Regions from separate parts of the Homo sapiens genome. Here region 1 is linked to region 2. Evidence: promoter capture Hi-C in human tissues and cell types (Jung and others, 2019). All regions are on one chromosome and are shown on one strand. Each heading gives the region's core, a stretch centred on a gene start or on the middle of the fragment in contact. The rest is flanking DNA. Distances are from core to core; before and after follow the strand shown. Region 1 overlaps SNTG1 (syntrophin gamma 1). Region 2 holds the start of SNTG1 (syntrophin gamma 1).

Region 1 (7,129 bases), core at 1,540-4,039, 55 kb before region 2:
TCTGGAGTTTTAAATGCAGCCTGAAATATATTATTCTGCCTCAGTATCGCCCTTTGCCTGTAGTGCTCATCAGTCCAAGGGAAAGATCTGTCATCCCCAGTTCTATCCGGAATGTGTCTGCCTTTTGGTTTTCTGGAACTCTGGAACACAGCGCCTGTAAATAATTATGATTGGATTGCAGGAGATAAATGGCTTCTTGCTTGCCTGGGAGGTCCTCTCTTTCATGGAGAAGTCTTCATTATTCTTCCAGCTATAGCTTTGGTCTATCTGGAAGAATAAGGGTCTATCTCTTTGGTATAACCTGCATCCTGAAGCTACATCTGATCCTCCCAAATTGATATTATTTCCTCTGAATAAGGAGATGTCTTTTGCATGTAGAAACCTGGAAACTTTAAACTTTATTACAAGTTCTTGCCCTTATCCTTTCAGTATTGCATCTAGTGATCTGGATCTTTCCACTTTAGATCTTATGAAAATTTTGGAACTGAAAAATTAATGCAATGTCAAGACATTGTGCCAACCTAATGGGTAAAATATTTTTGCTTGTGTTCTTTATTGGTAATTCTCAAGTCACAAGAATCAAAAGTCAAAAAAGTTTAATGATCTTTACATGAGACAAAATACACCATAATTGGGGGGGAAGAGAAGGTGCTGAAATTTCATAAGCAAATATATTGTGTTTTGGTAAGTACTGGAGACTTTGGGGGCACATTTTAAATCATCAGATTCAATGAAGGATGTGGGCAATGGCTTTGGACACAAAGAAATTGGAAGAACAAAATACATTTTTCCTTCTGCTCTGCCCAAAATCTTTCCTTCCAATGGTATATATTGACATATGGTGAAAAGACCATTGTATTTACTTGCAGAAAAAAAAACAAAGACTGTTCACCAGGTATAGAGTAAGCATAACTGGACTTGGAAGATGAATAGGGTGATTCTCTGAAGTACTGCAAGACACTGAAGGATAGGACCAAGACTGAGGAGAATACCCTCGCTCTTGTATCTGTGTAGAAAAGTGCACAGTCCTGGGGACAGGGAGGAAGCTGCTGTAAAGCCAGATTAATTTGATAATCATGATCTTAAACTACAAATGTCAGTAGCGAGATGTAATAAGATGCTGATGGCATCTTATTATTTGCTTAAGACCTTTCCATTAAATGCCAGCCTAGTAATTAATTCTTCTTAATGGAACTTTTCACTGCTTTAATCTCACTTTCAGTGATAATTAACACTTATCAATTCTCACTACAAATGAAAAAGCTATTTCAGAGAAAGGGTTGAACTCAGACACCTGGCACTCTTATGGTGAAGGCAGGTTGAGAAAAGGCTAAAAATTATATTTACTGAACTTTTTTTCCTGTCCAAATTAACCAATTCGAATTAAAACAAAGTTTATATATTATAATAAATTAATAAAAATTGAGAACAAAAATCAATGAAAAGTGAAGATTTTATCAGATGAAAAACTTGCATCACCACGTATGTGCAATGAGCAAATGTATCTACCAAAGCAGAAAGTAAACAATACAGAAAAGTTCACAGTCTCATGTCTACAGAAGTAGATTTTATAATAGATAAAACAAGATGAAACAAATGGCTGTGTCACATGTGACAAAACACCATCCTGAGAACAGACTGTAAGCTCCCTGAGAACAGGCTTTCTGCATGCTAAGAGGACAGACTCCAAAGCCAGACAGGCATTCTTCAAGCCCCTTTTTCTTGCCATTAAACATGTGACTTTGGGGAAGAAATAACCTATACTGTACATCTGTTTTTTCATTTGTGAAATAAAAATCACAACTGGCCCAGCTTCGAAGGACTGTTATGAGGATGATAAAATACTTACGCCCTTGGGACAATGCCTGGCCAATAGTGAGTATAAGCTATTGTTATTATTCCTGGCATTTTTTCTAATAGAGTGCTCTCCAAATAGTAAAGAAAGCACAAAAATATTTTCTTGACATTGTTTATAGATTATTGAAAAAAATCTTGCTAGCAAATTTGTGATATGGCACTAAATTTACATAAACATCTATTTGCATTGCAATATAACCATCGAACAATTATTTATTATTTAATATATGCTAGATATACACAAAGTAGCACATAAAAATATGCCTATATAGTAAAGGAAATAATTTCACACGTCATCATACCCATTCTTGGTTACAAATTCACTACCAATGGAATAAAAGTAAAATAAAAATAAATTATTTCCATAGGTTAAATATGTGTTTTAGTCAAAAAGACTGGAATAGGCTGGGCGTGGTGGCTGACACCTGTAATCTCAGCACTTTGGGAGGCCAAGGTGGATGGATCATTTGAGGTCAGGAGTTTGAGACCAGCCTGGCCAACATGGTGAAACCCCGCCTCTACTAAAAATACAAAAATTAGCCAGATGTGGTAGCGGGTGCCTGTAGTCCCAGCTACTAGGGAGGCTAAGGCAAGAGAATAGCTTGAAGTTGGGAGGCTGAGGTTGCAGTGAGCAGAGATTGCACCACTGCACTCAAGCCTGAGGAACAGACCGAGACTCTGTCAAAAAAAAAAAAATTAATTAATTAATTTAAAAAAAGACTGGAATAAGCTATAGACTTTTTTTAAACAGGAAAAACAAAAATGGTAACTAAACACTTAAAGTACTGACTGTATTTCCCGTACAAATCAACAAATTTACAATGATTTTATGGACTAATAACTATAAATATACCTTTTTACAAAGACAGAAACTGAGGCTTGAAAGAAGCAACTTTACCAAAGCTTCAAACCTAATTAGACAGGCTCCAAACTCTATTTTTTTCTCAGATTTTCCCAATAGAGACAAGAAAAATAGTCCAAGAGAGACTTGAGCAAGTAGAAATTGAATCAGAAATAGAAACCAGATATATTCTAGAGATGAACATTACATGCTGAGTATACTTGCAGCAAAAAGTCATAACAAGGAAGATGCACAGAGCTTAGTTGGGTAGATGAAGGGGAGGCATAAGAAAGTCCAGCATAAAACACTGAAACAGCAGGAACTCAAAAATGGACTCCCTTTAATTTCCATATAGACTGAAAGAAAAGGTAAAATGAAAGGAGATGAAAGATCACAGGAGGAAGTTAGAAAAACACTGAATTAGTAGAAATGACATTTGGGAAAAAATAGATAAAAGAGGAGGATGATAACTAAAATTTGTAATATGCCATTTGGTTTTAAATATCTTTGAAATTGCAAAAGCCAGAGTGGGCCCTATTTGTGTTATTTTCATGAAAAACATTCGGTTATCTAAAAATGGAACATTTCTGATGGGGCTAGAGAGGTTGGAGCAATCAAGGCGCATGACAACAACCACATTAAGCAGCTAAAAGCAACCCAGTGTCTGCTTATGGAGATTTCACATTTCCCTAGAGACTATTGTCCTGGTGTCCAGAGCAGGATTCTCTTGAGCTTCCACTCATAAGCCCAATTATTCATTTCTGAATTCATTTTCTGTTTGTTAAGGTGAGTAAGCATGAGAATCAAAGTGAAATGTCCTTGAGAGGAGAACAGACTGATTAGACAGTGAGTTGTTGCATTAGCAAATATATCCAGGCCTCAGTCACTGTATACATATCCAGAAGTTCATAAAGAAACTCATATAAAAAGGAGTATTACATTCCATTAACATCATCGTCATCACCTACTGAGTGCCTCCTTCTGTACTAGATTTGTTAGAATCCACAGGAGAACTGTATCCTTACTGCTAAATTGATGTGTAGATTGTCACAGTTGACTTTTATCACCCTCATAGGTATAAGCAGAATTAATGGCAAATATCAGTGATAGCTAAATCATGCCAATTTAATAGACGAGTGTGGTCAGTGCCAGAGCGTCATACTAGACATTTCATGAAACAGTGGTATCATTTCAATGTTTTCTATTTTAACTGAAAATAAAGGTCAGAGATCCCATGCTCTATCCTGTTCGGTATGCCATTAATTTTAACTTGCCTTAATAACTACTGTATAAATAAACTCTAATTTATATTAAATTCTATTTCTAATGTGGTTTGATAATACTTAATGTGCCATACATGGCTATCAATTATAGAAAAAATGAAATACACTAAACTTCAAAATTATACTGAGAATAATTCCATCTATCTTGGAGGTAACAAAGACAATTTTTGGAAGAGATCACTAATGAATACCTACTATCATGGAACTGGATAAATATCAAAATGTTGGCTAAAAATGGAAAATAGAATAAAAATGTAGAAATGAGAAAAGGGGAAACTTTGTTTCAACAAATATGCCTAAACAAGGTGAAAGTGAGTAGAACGCACCTGTTCCAGAGGTTTCCCACATGGGAAGAAAGAAGGACTAATCCAACTGTCAGTAAGTATTTGCCAGAGTCCTCTAAAGAAACAGAACAGATAGAGTATATGCCTGTGCCTGTTTACCTATTATTCACCTATGTATATAATCTCTACCTATCTGCCTAGTTATCATCTACCTGTCTATCAATCTACCTAGCTATCTATGTAGAGAGAGAGAGAACTAGAGAAACATTGGGATTGATTTGAAGGTATTGGCTCATGTGATCATGCAACTGTGGAGAATGACAAGTCTAAAATCTGCAGGGTCAGCTGCTAGTTGCAGACCCAGGGCAGAGATGACACTGCAGCTCAAGCCTGAAGGCAGTATGTGGCAAGACTCCCTCCTCCTTGTGGGGAGCCAGTCTTATCCTTCCAAGGTCTTCAACTGATTAGATGTGGTCATCCACTTGAAGAGTAATCTACTTTGCTCCAAGTCTACTGATTCAAATATTAACCTCATCTAAAAAATACCTTTACAGGAACATCTAGAATAATGTTTAACCAAATATCTAGGTACTGTGGCCTAGACAAGTTGACACATCAATCACACTGAGTGCCTACTATAAACAAGGTGCTGTGACTTTTGTGAGGCATACATGTTATTTAATTTAACTTGGGTGGAGTTGAAAATAACTTCTGGGAATTTAATGGATTTGATGCAAGCTATTTTTCTCATTTTGAGCTTTATGTATAAGTTCTTAAATATCAGACATTGATGAGAAGCTGAAGAAAAAGTCTTTCTAAATTGAAAAGATTTACAAACACGTTTTATCATATTGGCTATGGAAAACAGAGAAGAAAATGAAGTCTCTGTGAAGTTCTATTTTCATGAAGTTTTAAAACTCACTGAAATAAAGTGGGAGCTATTCATAGCATTGCTACATGCATTTGAGATTAAACAATCATCAGAAGGTACAGTGCAAAGACCAGTAGCTTGTAGTAAAGGAAACCTCAACCTGTTAGCACTGGACTGAATTCCACCCAGCTGACAGAATGGAGAGGAGCAAGATATAGGGGCAATGCTTGCTTGATCAGGAAAGTTTTCTGCATGGTAAAGAGGCAAGACTAGTGACTTCTAATTTATTGGAGAGCATACTACATACCAAAAGAAAAACACTATTGCATTGGAATAGTAATATAAACCAAGTTCTTACAAACTATGACTCAAAAAAGAAAATAAAATTGTGAAACAGCAGTATGAAAATGAACATTGAAAGCCCAAGACATAAACCAAAACAAAATCAGCCGTGCCAAGATCACAGTTGGGCAATGTGCCAAAAGACATTTTCCAACACTAGTTTCTGATCTCCTGTTTATTTGAATCCTGGCAGAGTGTTTGCAGCAAACCGTTCATACAGCACATGCTGTGGGTAGATGTCTTGGCGCTTTGCTTCCTGAGGAAGGGAAAACTATGGAGGTGGTATGATTAAGGATGAAGAGGGTTTTCTAACTTAGGGTTGGATTCATTCCCTTATACTTTATTCATGCATCCACTCATGTATTCCTTTAACTAATCTGTTTAGCTTTCATCTGCTACAACTACAGGAGGTGCTGTCATGAAACTGCAAGGAGACGGTCACTTCTTGGATTGCGCTTCCCGCCTCTGGCTTGAGAAGCACCTACTCAGGAGTCGTGGATCCCTGGCTGTACCCCTGCTCCTGCCAGATACTGCCTGCCTCCCTGCTACAAACAGCCCGGGAATCTGTGGTTAGAACCACTCTTTGTTGGGCGCAGTGGCTCATGCCTATAATCCCAGAACTTGGGATGCCAAGGCAGGTGGAACAACTTGAGGTCAAGAGTTCAAGACCAGCCTGGCCAGCATGGTGAAATTCCATTTCTACTAAAAATACAAAATTAGCTGGGCGTGGGGCATGCACCTGTAATCCCAGCTACTCAGGAGGCTGAGGCAGAAGCATCTCTTGAACTGGGAGGAAGAGGTTGCAGTGAGTTGAGGTCACATCACTGCACCCCAGCCTGGGTGACAGAGCAAGGCCATTATCTCATTGCATCCCAACGAGAGGAGAAGAAGGGCAGGATGCATCTACTGTCTCTATCTGAGGTAAATACAGACTCAGAGACTCACATGGGCCTTGAGTGGCAGCACAGAGTTGGAACAAGACCCGGCTCTTTTTAGAGCTCTTTCCTCATGATGACCTTGTTTCCTGACTCATTTATATGTGATATATGTGAGCATCTGCCCATTACATGTGTCTGCATGTATGTGTGTGTTACTCAAAATAACACATTGTGCCATTTGAACTGCAGCATCTTATGGCTATAAGGCACCCTAGATATCACCCGCCCCCCAAAAAAGAACCACTCTCTCAAGTCTCTCAGCTTCCTGCATGCCCCAGGGCTAGTCTCATCTGCTTCTCATCCTTGCTGACCTCACATTCCAACTAGCCGCCTCATCTGATTATGAAGCTCATCTTATGGTCAGACAGTCACCTGTGCTCTCCCCACCCTACACCTCTTCCTCTCCACCTCTGACCTTAGCTGCCTTCCACAGGGCTTTGCATTTGTTTCTCAATGTCCGCTCAAGGGCAACCTACTAATCTGAGCCCCAGGGAGGCCCTGGGAGCAGAGGGGAAGCTGGAGAATGTTTGTCCGGCTGCCATTGACATGGCTTTTCTTGCCATTCTCAAACTCCCTGAAAGTCAATTACAAATCCCTTTTGTAAAGCCAGTAGAAAAGACGCTATTTTTTCTATACTTGGATGGACACTCAAGAGGTGACTTGATAGTACTTAATTGTGTGGTTTCAACAAGTCATTGAATTCTCCCAAGTCT
Region 2 (7,110 bases), core at 2,369-4,868:
ACCACAGGATGTTGTCTCTTCCAACACATGCTATGTGCTCACTCTGCTAAGCTAAATAGGAAGAAAACACCAAATAAGAGATCTCTCTCCATTTGAATTCTATTCTATAACACACTGTACAGATTTCTGGGAAGGTGAGATTACTATGGAAATAATTTCTAGCTTACAATATGCTTTTTTCTTTCCTAGTGGCTTTTGTGTTGCTTAACAGAACTAGGTGAGTAAGCAGGCTAGCTGCTTGGAATTTATAAATCTTTAAGTGGTCAAAAACAGCCAATTACTAAATATTAGCAATAGTCATTTTTTACTTTTATATTTTTTGATAAATGTTTGAACTTGATTGAAACCCAAGTAAATAACTCCAAAGGCAAACTGTGAGCATTAAAATCCAATACGATTTCATGGTATGAATAATTACATTAGAATATACAAGTAATATTTATATAGTCTATGCAAAAATTAATCAAGAAGTGTTTTTATAACATTTTGGAAGAAGGCAATTGAATGGATTCCAGGGCTCATTTTAAATTATCCTCTGGTCCTATATATACTTTACATTTTCTAGATTATGTAATCCCATCTCACCTTTCTCTTTTGAGTCTCAAATGTAAGCAACAGCCAACAACACTTAGTCTTATCCAATAAAACTTTTTTTTTTTTTTTAATGGGGAAAAGATAGTGTGTTTGGTACTCCCAAGACCTCATGCATCCTTTTTCTTTAGCAAAACAAAATAACTATCAAAGCAAATAGATGCCCTTAGTGGGGTACAGATATCCCTTAATAAAATGTTGATTTTTCTTTAAAGACAAGTGATTCTGTGCAATAATGAAGATTGGTTTCCACTACCCCCTTTTTGTTTGTTTGTTTGACTATCTACTTTACAATTAGAGATTAGCATTGGTAGGCATTAAGTTGCTTTCCCAAACTCTATCTCAATGTAAGGACATTTCCCTACAGATAAGGATTGACAAGGGTTTCCATGCAGTTTCATGAGTTTGGGGTGAATTAGAGTTACATATTTCTGTGACTAAATCTCCTAAGGGATTAGGCAAAGGTAACTTTCACTTTGTGAGATTTCAGTTACACATAGAGAAAGCCTGCCCCCTCTGCCCCTGAGGAGGGAACTGCGGCCATATACACAGAGGAGTGCTTCTTGAAACACATTCTCTGCTTACATTTTATGCCCTACTGACTAGGGGAGTCCCTCTGTGTTAATTAATTGACAGCCAAAATAATTGTCTAAAGACATGCTGTAACTCTCTTAAAATATGATTAAGTCTTCCATGTGATAATTTCACTTCCATACCTCTCCCACTGAGGAAAAAAAGGATTGTGTTAAGAGCACATTGTAGGTTTTCTGGGAAGGAATCCAAATCAATAATACATGTTTCTCCTCCTCAGATAATCATTCTTGACCTATATAGGGCAACGGAGCCCCCAAGGAGCTCAGTGACATAGATGCCTCTGCTCCTTTTCTGCTAAGCAAGCAGGTTCATGGTAAGTGGTGACAGTTAAGAATGATTTTTCCTCAGAGTAATTGCTACACTCAGCCAACATAAAACAAGAGGACATCACCCCACCAATGAATGCCACTGTAACGGCCTCCAATGATTTTTGTGTTAAAATTGAGAAGGAAGGTACGTATAGATATGCATTAGAGCCATTTTACTATCGTTACACACAACCAGTGAAATTAAAAGTAAAACCTAAAGATCTCCTGTAATTTTTCAAAGGGGTAGACTCTTTTCACAGAGTTGATTATGAATATCTCATCACATGTATTTACATGACTGTAAAATTCCATCCTTGCAAGTCAAAACTCTTCACTGAACTGAATGTACTCATTGGAATTGATCGGATTCTTAGTGAAATGTCAGGCACGGGTTACAAATTTGTGTAACTGCTTTTGCCCAGTGAACCCTTTTTATTAAAGCAGAATGCTTATCAAGGTCACTGTGAAAGATTGTAATTTTAAAGCTCCAGGGGAAAACTAGAAATAAGAATCAACAGAAAACAGATTTAATTAGCATTTTAAAGTTTATGGTTTTTCGGGAACCTACTGGTCCCTATCACTTTCTGGATTTCACTGACAAATGTATTTTGCAGAACTAATAAGTTAGAATGATTTTGAAATCCAGCTCTCCTAAAGAGGCACACTAAAGCTTCTCATTTTCTGCTTTCTGGCAGATCAGGTTTGAGAAAGCAATCTTGAGCTTTCAAAGGCTGGAAAGAGGGTGCTAAGTAAAAATATGAGTGTCTCCTTACGTAAGATCCTACAGGTGTAGGTATACTTGGAGGTTGGCATGGAGTGAGAAATCTGGTGTATATGTATACATGTATTTGTTCCCATGCATAGTTTAGTATATTATAACAATATAAAATATGTTAGAGGGCATGGTTAAACCCTCTCTATTTTAACTTTTTTAGTCTTGCATACTATGTAACACAGACAGGATCACTTTTTATGGCATACATAAGACAACAAAATTATCTTGCCAAACGATTGCATTAGTTTTGGGAAAAAATAAACAAGATATGCCAGATCCAAAAAGATATTAGATAAGCAATAAGAAAAATGGCCAGCTAAAAGTTTACTGTAATTATGTAAGGCAACATGTATGTTATTTTGATTCTTCTTGTCACACAATGATCCAGAAACAATTATTTTAAAACAAAATTGCTTGTCTCCTCGTTAACCCCAGAAAAAATTACACTGCTTATGATCTTTCTGTTAAACCATAAGACAAGTCATTAGAATTTTAAAAAACAAAAATAATAGCGCTATCACTTACCTGCCGAGCAATGAAATTAGATGTCTTTTCAGTCTCTCTAACGTAGAATTTTGAGTAGCTCTCCACCCTCTTTTCACAAAGCTATTTCCAAAACAGTTGCAATCCACTCAAGACCATTCTGTTTATTTCAAGAAGTGTGGACCTTTGAGCATTTCAACCCCTACCGCACGGCCCATGATTTCTCAGAGCTTCTAAGAACTTCGACTTTACTCTCCTCCAGAATTCCTCCCAGACCCCTATAGAAAAATGATTCTTGAAGTTGCTGCTGAGAGTTTAATCTGTGGAGCAAGAGTACTCCTCAGAGTCCTGTCCTTAGGTACAGCAGGTGTAGAGGGAGGGGTACTTTTCATCCATTAAGGAAGGGGGCCGGGAGGCGAGGGGGTAATAGGAGGCACCGCCTTTTAGCTGCGAGGAGCAAGTAGCCCAGCTGCCCGTGGCGACGACAGTGGCGGCAAGGACAGCGGCGGCGGCAGCGTAGTTCCGTCCCTGTGGCTGCAGCTCAGTCCGGAGACGCTGTCCATCCCCTCTGGTGCTGAAGTAAGGGGACGGGAGCCCCTAAGCGCAGGTCCAGGTCGCACTTTCCTCCACCAGCGAATCCAAGCAGCAGCTTCCTTGTCTTCCGCCCTAGCCTTCTCCCCTCCGGTTCTTTTTTTTTTCTTTTTTCTTTCTTTTTTTTTTTTGTAGGGGCTAATTGTTTCTCCAAATTAACAGTCTCATACTTATTTGGTGACAACGTTTCTGGAAAAACAGGAATCCCTGGGAAATAACATCTGAGCCTCCCCTGACTTTTCAGTGGCCCTGCACGAGTTTCCTAATGCCAGAAATGAAAGAAAACGCACGCACAGGGGCGCGCACATACACGCACGAGAGAGGCAGAGAGAGAGAGAGAGGAAGAGAGAGAAAAAATATATAGATTTGTACCGTGGAAAATCCAGAGCTTCTTTGGAAAGCTCGTGGATCTTTAATTACATAAGATGAAAAGGAATATTTTGGAAAACTCCGCAATCTTGATTACCAATTAAGGGGACCACATTCAAATTTTGAGAAACCCAATTTGAAATTCCTAAATTAAACCCAGTGAAGATTCTTAGACCCTCCACGCGGAAACGATAGGTTATTGTTAAAATTTTAAAAGACAGAGAATGAAAGAATGAAAAAGACAGGAAAAAGCATCTGCACTCGGCTACCTTTTAAAACGCTGCTGAATTGGATCGGGATCGTTGCAGAGCCTCTCAGAGGATCCGGCGAACGCAGCTCCTGTGAGTGTCAGCGCTGAGCTCAGCGAGCAGGCAGCTTGGAGGCCCAGGGCAGTGCTAGCGAGTCGCCCACAGCCTAGGCTCCTGCAGTGGGGGCAGAAAACGGCTTATTTCACAAAGGACGGGATAAAGAAGGCACAAAGACAGTCAGAGGGCTCGACAATCTCTGCCTTTGTAAAGCCAGAGCAAAGCCCAATTTACGTTGTTTTTTTTGTTGGCTTTTCAGCCCATTTTCCCTCTGGTCTCCCACGCTGCCCCCTCGCCTCCCTACTCCGGAATCCGCGCTCTCCCGGGCCTTGCAGGCTCTTCACTCCCGCTCTTGGCAACTGGCTGACAACGAGCATAAAGAAGGGTATGGGTGCGTGGTCCCGAGTGCTGTCACCCAGGGCTCAGCCACCCACACTCGGCAACGGGTGCAGACGCCAGTGAACTGAGACGGGAAGTTGAAATACATAACGTTGAAACTGTTGGAAAACTGGTCAAAACCAGGGCCATGTGGACCTTTGAAACTATGTGGAGTAAAAGGGGAAAATGGAAAGAGCGAGACTGTAACACCGCCCGCCCTTGCAGACTCCTAACTTGTGCAGTGTAGATTTCTGCACAAGGAGGTTATTGATAGACATGAGAGGAAATTCGAGAAAGACTGGTGAGGGGCGCTGGTGTGTGTGGTGGGGACGGGGGTCCGGGAGGGGCGGGGCGCAACACTAATTTCTCCCGGGCTGTGGGAAGGGGCCGGACGCCTGCTCCTGGCCTCCCTTCCCCGGCGACTTCTCAGGTTCTTCTTCCTGTTCTGACACTACAGGGAAGTCCTAGACGTTGTGCTTTCCTCCCACGCTTGCTTCCATCAAGGATTAGAGCGCGTTCCCGCTGGTCTGGAACCATCCATTCCAGGTAGGGGATCTTCCCTCCCGGGGACATTGCGCTCTCCAAGCACCGGCCTGCGGCGCGCGCGGGGGACGGGCGAGGAGGCGGCACAGCCAGTGGAGTTCCAGTGGGCTCCCTGGAGGAGAAACGTTACTGAGCCGGGAATCACTCGGGACGGAAAACCAAACAGGCCGCGTATTTACTCACAGGAAAAGGCCAGACTTTGGTTGGACTTTGAGCCATTTTGCTGCAGCAGCAACGGCTTTATTTCCCTGGGGTGGCCACCAGCCGCCACCGCGGCTCGCGAGCTCCGGCTGGAAGGGGCCGCGCTGTGCTCCGCACATTGCAGGCCGCGGTCGCTGTGTGGAGCTGCACACGCAGGAAACGGTCGCCGTGGAACGAAGCCCTTGGTCAACTTTCTCTAACAGTCTTTTTTAACAGAGGATCTATTAAAGGTTGTGATTCTCTCTAAAACCGTGTTTGGGGAATCCATCTGACCTCACGGAGACACACAAACCTAAAAAGAGAGTATCTGCTGCTTGAGGCTAATTTTTAAGGGGGTCTTTTGCTTTTCAGTCCATGTGAAAACGTTGCTTAAGGTTATGGTAAATGAAGTTTCCCTTTTCCTTAGACAAATGTGGTGAAACACGTGCTTCTTTTTTCTGCAGAAACAATACCTGTCGTGTGTGTTTCAGAAAATGCCCCCTTTTTGTTAGATGATTAAAACAAACCCCCCGTGTGAGGGTTATGCTAATCAGGGGCTATCCGTCCTTGTCAGCAAAGAAGCTTTTCTCTGCTGTATTTAATTCTATGCTTACTAAGGTTGATTTAATTGATTGTTTAAATTATTTTATCAGGACATACGGAAACATGAATAACCACAGAAAATCAACACACCAAATAAGAGCATTTAAATGAAGCACAGAGTACAAAGATGTTGCTAATTAAAAACATATGCACTTGATTATTCAGACCTAGAAGAACAGATTCTTTTCTTCCTGAGCACTGATTGAGTTTTATGCGGTCTCTCTCAATCTTTCTATCCCCCTCCCTCTGTCCTGCCAGTAAAAGAAAACAGAAACAGTTGATTAATGTGAACTGACAGTCCCAGTATGATTATGATAGTTTGATGTCTTTTCTTCAAGAAGCAAAATCCACTTTATATTTTTTCTCATCAAGTTGTATAACCAGTTATGGAAATCAAGATGATGAAAATTAAATACCGCCTAACATCTGATGCTACAAATGAATATAAATGAAGTACAACATAAAAAAACCAAGGGACAAATAAGCTGAGGTGAATTAAAGAATTATGTTAAGAAATTTCACCCCGGGAGCAGATTTTCCAAAGTCTATTTTAAATGATTTTTTAAAAAAATTCTTAATTTAAGTTGCCATGATTTTAAAAATGTAAATATAGTAAAATGTGAATATAAATAATCAAAACAATACATGAAGCATTATATGCACAAGAAAATGTAGTAACCTAGCATCATTACTGTGAATTCTAAACTGGCTCATTCAATCCCTCTCTATAAAACTAGGATATAATTCCCCTCTAGTCCACTCTACACAGTGCAAAAATCTTAGAAAACATAATAGTTTGTGGAACATTTTGTAAACAATTGGAAGTCCTTTGGGTCAGGAAGTTTGAAATGTAAGTTGAAACCGCCATACAATATGATCTAAATGAATCGTCATTATACACTATGTGAAACGTTGGCTGTGTCACTTCCGGAAGCCTCCTATTTTCACATCTCATTACTATATGTAAAATGGTGATAATAATCATAATTTTTGCCAGCCTCATAAACTGTCATATGCAAAAATCAACATATGTAAAAACTTTGTATATCTTGTATATTTCTACAAAAATAGGTAGTAGCACCTATCATCTGTGGAGTATCATTTGCTCACAATTTTTAGACCTCAATTGAAAAACTGGTGGTTCCATTTAAAGGTTCTATTTTTTGTTAATATATATTTCTAATTATTTCTGTGTTTACTTCATGTTTCCTAATAGATATAGAGCTGTAATAGGCCTATACCCATATCTGAACCCTTTTCAATTAACAGTTTTAACATCTTCAGTATAATTTTGAGCTGCTTTTTTAAATTGTGTCCAAGTACAAATAAATATTACATATCTATTACCAATTATTTCTGAATTGGAACAGTGATCCTATTTTAAAATCTC

Evidence for each region. The method cuts DNA at HindIII sites, captures the fragments that hold promoters and counts their contacts. A contact is called where the count stands out against the background at its distance.
Region 1: a fragment that was not itself captured here is called in contact with the fragment with the promoter of SNTG1 in region 2 in 2 of the 25 tissues and cell types used here (H1 embryonic stem cells and hippocampus).

The regions. Positions count from the first base shown.
Region 1 is chr8:49,961,826-49,968,954 of GRCh38, reverse strand. The region is part of intron 1 of SNTG1 (syntrophin gamma 1); the gene reads right to left. Among named protein-coding and RNA genes, the nearest start is that of SNTG1, 54 kb to the right of the region's middle. The HindIII fragment of the contact is 5,023 bases long and covers 278-5,300 here.
Region 2 is chr8:49,907,915-49,915,024 of GRCh38, reverse strand. It overlaps SNTG1 (syntrophin gamma 1), which reads right to left and starts at 3,618. Exons shown (of 19, transcript NM_018967.5): 1 at 2,794-3,618. RefSeq lists an enhancer at 3,769-4,713. The HindIII fragment of the contact is 7,737 bases long and covers 1-6,556 here.